Regions from separate parts of the Homo sapiens genome. Here regions 2 and 3 are each linked to region 1. The links are contacts of gene promoters, found by promoter capture Hi-C in blood cells and fetal thymus (Javierre and others, 2016). All regions are on one chromosome and are shown on one strand. The core of a region is centred on a gene start or on the middle of the fragment in contact, and the rest is flanking DNA. Distances in the headings are between cores, read along the strand shown.

Region 1 (2,532 bases), core at 15-2,514:
TCCTTGGGAGGGACTAGAAGGAAACATAGGGTTTTTTACTTCTCATATAACCCTACCAGAAATGACAGTGAAATATATTGTTATAATAGACAATCTACACAGCAGTCGATCTTCTTCCCGGAGTTTCCTCAGAAGGTGCTTATACTGAATTTAAGTAGAGGCCATTTTTTAAAAATAGTAGAAAAACAATTGTAAGTTACCAGTGTAATTTTATTGCAAAGTTCATGTTTGGTGTAAGTAGAAACAAAACACAAAAAGAGAAGGGAATCGGTTATTTAGACATACTCTCTGCAGGGCAAAAACAATCATTACTTCATCATATCACATTTCAACCACTATATTTTAGTTCCAAAGAGATCGTAATGCTTTGAAAAATCTAACGCTCCTCGCACCTCATTTCTGTTTTTCATTTAATCCTAAATGTATATTTAAAAATTTTTCTCTTTACCTGTGAATGGTCTTCAGCTCATTTCTAATACTTCCTTTTCATTCCACAAAAATATACCTTTGAAAAATATAATGATGTAGAGATTAACAAGTATCCAAACAAGAAAACAACCATCAGAAAAAGAGAGGGCATAGTCTCAATCAACACTTTGGGATAAGATGTTTCTCGCCCAGGGGTTGTTCTCAGCGTGGGTGTGGCCGAACTGCCCGTGGCCCGAGCTACCGGGCAGGTGGAAGCGCCAGGTAAATGCAAGGCGCAAGCTTTCGCATTGCCATCACTGCAGAGTGGGAGAGGGGAGAGGGGTAAAGATGAAGACACGGGGGAACAGGGCTGTTAAGTGTTGCTGGTGTCTGAAGTCTCAGGTCGGACTTAGGGAGAAAGTGTAAGTAACTGAGAGGGAATCGCTGGGCAGAGGAAGGGTGGTGTGAATAACAGGGAGGAGGAAGGTGGGGAGCGAGAACACAATATCCAGGTCTTAAGAGCGCACAGGAAGGGAGGTTCAGGCGCTCAGCCATTCCGCCCCTCCCTGACCGGAGGGCCCAGGCCACCACCGGCTCCAGCAAAGCCCTAGCCCCGGGCCCATGCCCACCTTGCCATCGCGGGGTCGCTTCCTGTAGCTACTCCCCCATCCTCAAACCCTGGCGGCGGACCCCGCCTGGCCGAGCCCAAGCACCGCGTGCAGGAGAGAAGCACACGCACTCTCCGACGGCCCAGCCGCGGCGCACGGGATTGGTGAGGTGCAGCCACACCGGCGACTACCAGCGCGCGGCCGGTACCGGTAGGTTCCTCACGCGCCGGTCTCCACGGCGAGCCGGGGCGGGGCCTGGCGCGGAGCATTGTGGGAAAGGCGTGGAGGACGCTGCCTGGGGAGACCCGCTGCGGGCCCAGCGGGCGCTGCGGCGGTGGGGTGGAGAGGGCGGTGTAGGTTTAGGTTGACGTGGCGGTGTGCGCGGGATCCGGCTCCGGCTCCGGCTCCAACCCGGAGCTGAGGGAACTGCCCTGGCCAAGCAGCCCGCGCCCCCTCACCAATGCGGCCGGCGCCTGCCGCGGGCGGGGAGGGTGGATGGCGAAGCCCGCCTCTTCCTGCTTCCGTTGCCAGGGTGACGGGGAAACCCAGAGGGTGGGTTTTGGGGTTGAGTTCCCTGAGAGTCTTTTAAAGGGAAGACGGAGCTTTGGAGGATTTGTCTGGGTGATGGGTGGGTGAGACCGAAAGGCGAAATTTGGCGGAGAAAGGAGAAGTTGCCTGAAGCGACACTGATTGCAGTATCAGGCTAGCGGACTGAAGAGGCAGTAGGAAACTTGAAGGAAATTAAAACATTTACAATTTTGTGTAAGCGTGTGTATCAACAAGCATTTGAGACTTCTACAATATTTTCTGGATTCTGAGTCATACAAGCTAGAAACTGGGGAGTTATCGTTGTTCTCTCTTACCTTGATCTCCTACTGCTATGGTACAGGAACTGCATTTTGTCCCACAGCAATATAACAATTGAAGTGGTTATATTTACTACATTTTCTATATTTAAAAGAGAAAACCGAGCCTAGAGGATACCTGCTTATAACATCAACCCTAACATGAAATAAGTTGTGATTGGTAACAGTTTCGGGGAGTAAATCAAGTGTCAGCTTCTAAAAACTTGGAAAACTACACAGGATCTATGGCTAAGCTAATACTTGGTAGGAAAGAAGAGGAAGTAGAATGAACAAAGGCAAACATTAGAAGCAGCCTGATGTAATAGTAGTTAATATGTCTCAGGAACTGGTCTAAGCACACATGTAGTAACTCATTTAGTCCTCCAAATAATCTTACAAGATAGTGGCTCCTATATCTATTTCCCATTTGAGGAAACTGAGGCAAATATTTGAGAGCTAGGATTCACATCTAAGCAACCTGGCTTCAGAGACTATGATGTTAAGCATTATGACACAGTGTGTAACCATTTTGTTACACACTGTAACAAAATCTTAAAGTAAATTGAAAAACAAACAGAAAACTGGAAGATGAAGCAGGGACCAGATCACAGACAGGTTTTTATACCAAGATGAAGACATAGATTTCTATCTCTTAGGTGATGAGGAAGCTT
Region 2 (2,532 bases), core at 25-2,524, 1.7 Mb after region 1:
GAAGCCTCAATATGCCTTCCTAAAGGAACCATGTACATGTAGCAAGTTGAAACAACAGGCTAGATAAAATGGTTTGTATAATACTATGAATAATGATTAGTATATATCACATATAATTCTGAATAGGCTTATAAAAATATCAAAATAGTTAAAGAACATGTTAGAAATTCGAAGTTATTAAGCTGCATGTAAAAATATTTATCTTTGCCTTTAAAAATGTAAGAAATATATATTAAAATGAGGTGCAACATTCTTGCCCTCAAAATTTGCAAATCTAAAAACCGTAATGCCAAATACCTGGAGGAGTATTATGAGAAGGGCACTTTCCTATATTGCTGATGGCATTGTAAATTGATATAACCTTTTTGGGAAGCAATTTGGCAATGTGTTACAAGAATCATAAAAATGTTCATACTCTTTTAACCTAGTAATTCTACTTCTGGGAATCTATCCTAAGGAAATAATCCAAAATATTTTTTAAATGCTATATGCCTGACAGTGTTTATCCCAGTATAATTTATACTATATAAAAATGGAAACCACTCAAACTGTCCAACATAAGGACTATGCTTGGTAAATTATGGTTCATTCACTCGATAGAATATGATACATGAATATAAAATGGTGAGTATTATACCTAACAGTTTATCAATTCCTCCTTGTCAGAAAATCCTTTTCTATGAAATCAGCTCATGTCCTGCTTAGTTAAAAAGACTAACAAAAGTGTCATACATCATTTTTTAACTTATATTTTTACTTAACATTGTCACTTAAATTTTTCTGAGATGTCTTATAGCATCTTCTGTAAAATCAGGTTAAATGTATCCTTTCTGCTTCAGAAAACAAAGTTGTATCCATGATGGATGAAAAATGTATAATAGAGATTTGGAAGAAATATGCAAACAATTATTTTGGAATAAGTAGCCTGATTGCTTGTGATTCTGGCTACCTCTTCCATACTGCATAAATGGTTATCTAATTAGAAAAGACTCAATAAGGAGTAGTGTGCTTTCTTTTGGGGCTGCAAATAAAGTAGTTTAATTTGATATGATAATCAGGCTTATGTGCCAGTTGAACATCTATATAACTAAAGTAGTAAAACAAAATATTTTTACAGAATGTTTCTGTTTCAAGAGTAAGACTTTTAGTTTTATTCAGGTCCATTTTAAAGGCTCATTATAATTTATAAAGATCTCAAAAATCTTTTATGCCTAGTAAAATATCAAAGTGTATATGATTTTAACTTCTCTGGATTATAATATCCCAAAATAACTCAGACAAAGTAAATATCCCAGAGTAATGTGAATGAGTTAAAAAAACAGTGATACAGAATTTTCAAAAAGAATATATGTTCTGTGTGGTAGAGGTAAGGAACATCTCCAACTTAGATTCATAAAGGAATGACCACTTAGTATCAGTACTAATAATCCAGAAAAGGATGTTGAGGTACTAGACTTTTTCTACCGATGAAATTAAGGATTAGAGACAATAAATCACTTTCCTAAAGTCTTAAAGGTAGCTCTTGACAGAACTGTGCAAAGCACTTTGGAATTCTATGCCCATTCTGCTATGCTGTCCTATCTACCAGGGCACAGAGTCCAGTCTCCCAAGTCACCAGCTCCTGTAGAGATTGTCAAAAGACTGTCATCAGAAAGTTATTATAACTTTAACAGTCTTTTTGCATCTTTGTTCATAAACATGAAAGAGACCTTCTCTAATATGGTAGTATAAGTTCAGTAATCCTGTAATAATCATTCTCTATATAATCATCCTATATATTCTTGATAAGACTTATCACAATTTATAAGTAAATATTTATTTGTGTGATTATTTCTGCAATATTTTTCTCCCCCTACTAGAAGGAGGGAAGGTCCCATATCCATTTTTTGTGCCTAAGACAGTATATTGGCATACGTGGCATATAATATTTAGTAAAATAATTCTTGAATGAGACCAAGTTACCTTCATTCACACTCAGAGAGAGCCAACTGAAGGAAATGTTATGGAATAATAACAACAAGAAAAATTATCTTTTCACACTGCCTAATATATTTATGGAGCCAGTTTCATTAAAGACAGCATAGGCCAAGCATACAGGAATTGAAAGGTATTTAGAGAAATTAAAGGACAGTAGTTTCATACAGTGAAATAAATTAAAGATGTTTGGTATATGACTCTAACCTCTGAGATAAATGTCAGGGAGAACAATGACCACATTTTCTCACCCAATTTCTAATAAGATCATGATCAGAGAATGAGTACTGGACTGTAGACTTACGCTATTTTCTAAAAGTGTAGCAGAGCAGCACAGTTTTTCTAACCTGCTTAATAAAATGTCTGCGTAGAAGAGATCAAGTTCTGTGTTCTATAAAGCTAAAGTCTGGCAGTTAAGATTAAAATCAATCACCTCAATCAATCTCAGACTCATTGGCAGAGCAATTTAAAAGAACTGATGGAAAATAAAACTGTTATACATTTGGTCCAACTTTCTCTACTACTTTATCAAAACATCGTGGTCATTGACCCAGAAAC
Region 3 (2,532 bases), core at 17-2,516, 1.7 Mb after region 1:
TCTTTTGAAAGTGCATAGTGAAATACTTGCATGTTTTAAGATATAGATGAAATGATGTCTGAGATTTTTTTAATGTAATAATGGGAGGGTGAAATGGACGGAGGCATAGATGAAGCCAGATTAGCCATGATTAGGTAACTACTGAAACTGGATAAAGGTTATATATATGGGGGTTCATCATACCAGCCTGTTTACTTTTGCATATGTTTCAAGTTCTCCAAAATTAAGAAACCTCGGCAGAAGGGAAAAGTGATAATTGCAACGTGCTTATTTTAGGGTTTTCAAAAGAAGAAAATGAGTATTTGGCATCTTCTAATGGAAATGTGGATAGTAAGCACCTGGGAAGATGAGAAAAATGTCTTTTAAAATTTTACAAGGACACTGGTGTAAACATAAAATGAAGAAAAATTAAAGGCACACTAGTTAAAACTGCCATTGAATTCCATATAAATTACATGTCTCTGAGTTTGCGTTCAAAGCCTTCAAATGCCAGGTTTCTTCTCATTGTGATACCAGGTAAATTTAGTACAAGCATATATATCACAAATCTAACAAATAACACCAATACCCTAAGAAACAAGTATGAGGCAAGAATAAATCATAAAGCCAATGCCTTATGGTACCCTCTATATTTTGCTGTTGCTACTGTTTAAATTAAGAAGACTACAGAAAGCAATAGGAAGCCATAAAAAATATGTAGCCACAATCTTCTGAGATCGATTCTCTTCGGGACCCTGAATAAATGGATTCTTGACCTACTAGAATTTAATGTGAGAAAATGATCCATTTGTAAAGGACCTATAAGACTGTAAATGGCAAAACTAACTACAAATAACCATCCTCAGAAAGGGAATAAACAGTGTTTATAAAAAGTGAGACGCATGGATGTAAAGGGGGATCATGATGATGATTTATAAGTGAAGGAAAATAAAATAAAAAGGTAACAAAATTCATGTTTCCCTAGGCCTTTCATTCAGACCAAAAGATGTGGAACTATACTCCCAAAAGCAATTTTGGACTAGAGATGTCTTTATTTTTCCCCAGACAAGCTGGAAGTTAAACAGAATGACAGAGTATATTTGCTCTGGAACACTAAAGCAGCAAAAAAACTTTGGAATGGCATAACTAGTCCAAAAGCTTCCAAAAAAGGCAGACTACACCACAGTTCCTTTCAAAGCTTCATTTGTTGTGAATAACCATAAAGTTAAAACAAGTATTATATACATCAAGGACCAAAAAGAAGGAACTGGGATTTTTACAAATTGAATGACCCTAAGCTGATCCTCACTATTGGTATTACTTTATCACCACCTACCGACGGGCACATCCAAAACAGATGTGATAAACAAGCTTTTGTTATTTCTCTATACACCCTTATAAAACTGATAGAATGTCAACAGAGATAAAAATCCCAAGGCTTTACAATTTAACTTTACTACTGCATTTAGACAAGATGCAAGGCACATATTTGATTCATAAAACTCATTAATGTCATCAATTTAAAATGAAATATATAAATGTGGTAGGTTGCCCTGAGAACATTAGTTCTGTTTTGTAAAGTGGAGCAGCCACTCTTCCAAAGAGACTCACTGGAAAAAGCAAATCCCAGCCTGATCAACATGGTGAAACCCTGTCTCTACTAAAAAAAAAATACAAAATTAGTTGAGTGTGGTGGCACATGCCTACAGTCCCAGCTACTCGGGAGGCTGAGGCAGGAGAATTGCTTGAACCCGGGAGGCAGAGGTTGCGGTGAGCTGACATTGCGCCATTTCACTCTAGCCTGGGTAACAGAGTGAGACTCTGTCTCCAAAAAGAAAAAAAAAGTTAGTCAGGCATGGTGGGGTGCGCCTGTAGTCCCAGCTACTCGGAAGGCTGAGGTGGGAGGATTGCTTGAGGCATATGTTCCAAATGTCAGAGCTACAAGATACACAGATATAAGTCAACACAGAGAAGAGCTGCCCAAGATAGTCCCTGGACCCACAGTGGTCTTCACATGAGTGAGAAATAAATCTTTATACATTGAGCCACTGAGCCTTCTAGGTTTGTTTGTAATCACAACACAACCAGAAAAATTTAACATCTCCTTTTATAGTCTAATTGCACTTAAATAATGCAAGGCAAAATACATCCAAAGTATTAAGTATTACTTAATACTTGTGTTTAAGAATTAAAGATTATCTTCCTTTCTGTGTAATACTGTGTATCTAGAATGAATGGAATGATTAAAAGAGTATTTGAAAGCAAAGTGGAAAAACAACCCAGTAAACAAAGAACAACTTAAAAACGAGTAGACACTGATAGTTTCACCTTAAGAGAAAAGAACTCTTAAGCATACAAGTTACAAGACAAAAAACCCAACAAACCAAAAACAACAACTGAGAAACCAAAATCAGCTATTAGGAAACAGGTAAAAAAGAAAGCAAAGCAAATGAAAATACCCTTTCATCATGAGTAGTAAGTAATTTCAGTCATGGTCACGTAACAGAAGTAGCAGAGCAGTCCCTACCTATCTGTGCAGTTCCACTTTCCACA

The links. Contacts are between HindIII fragments. The CHiCAGO score rates a contact against its expected background, and 5 or more counts as called.
Region 2: a fragment that was not itself captured here is called in contact with the fragment with the promoter of DNAJC10 in region 1 in 1 of 17 cell types (fetal thymus); the score reaches 5.3 in fetal thymus.
Region 3: a contact is called between a fragment that was not itself captured here and the fragment with the promoter of DNAJC10 in region 1, in 2 of 17 cell types (activated CD4 T cells and naive B cells). The highest score is 7.0, in activated CD4 T cells.

What each region holds. Positions count from the first base shown.
Region 1 is chr2:182,714,989-182,717,520 of GRCh38, reverse strand. DNAJC10 (DnaJ heat shock protein family (Hsp40) member C10) reads right to left here and starts at 1,264. Exons shown (of 24, transcript NM_018981.4): 1 at 1,038-1,264; 2 at 449-505. It also overlaps a transcript of PDE1A not described here. RefSeq lists a silencer at 872-1,031 and enhancers at 593-1,197, 1,542-1,611, 1,632-1,781. The HindIII fragment of the contact is 1,821 bases long and covers 711-2,531 here.
Region 2 is chr2:180,972,997-180,975,528 of GRCh38, reverse strand. No RefSeq gene overlaps it. Among named protein-coding and RNA genes, the nearest start is that of UBE2E3, 6.3 kb to the left of the region's middle. The HindIII fragment of the contact is 9,383 bases long and covers 1-2,532 here.
Region 3 is chr2:180,991,955-180,994,486 of GRCh38, reverse strand. All of the region lies in intron 3 of UBE2E3 (ubiquitin conjugating enzyme E2 E3), which reads right to left. Among named protein-coding and RNA genes, the nearest start is that of UBE2E3-DT, 12 kb to the right of the region's middle. The HindIII fragment of the contact is 173 bases long and covers 1,180-1,352 here.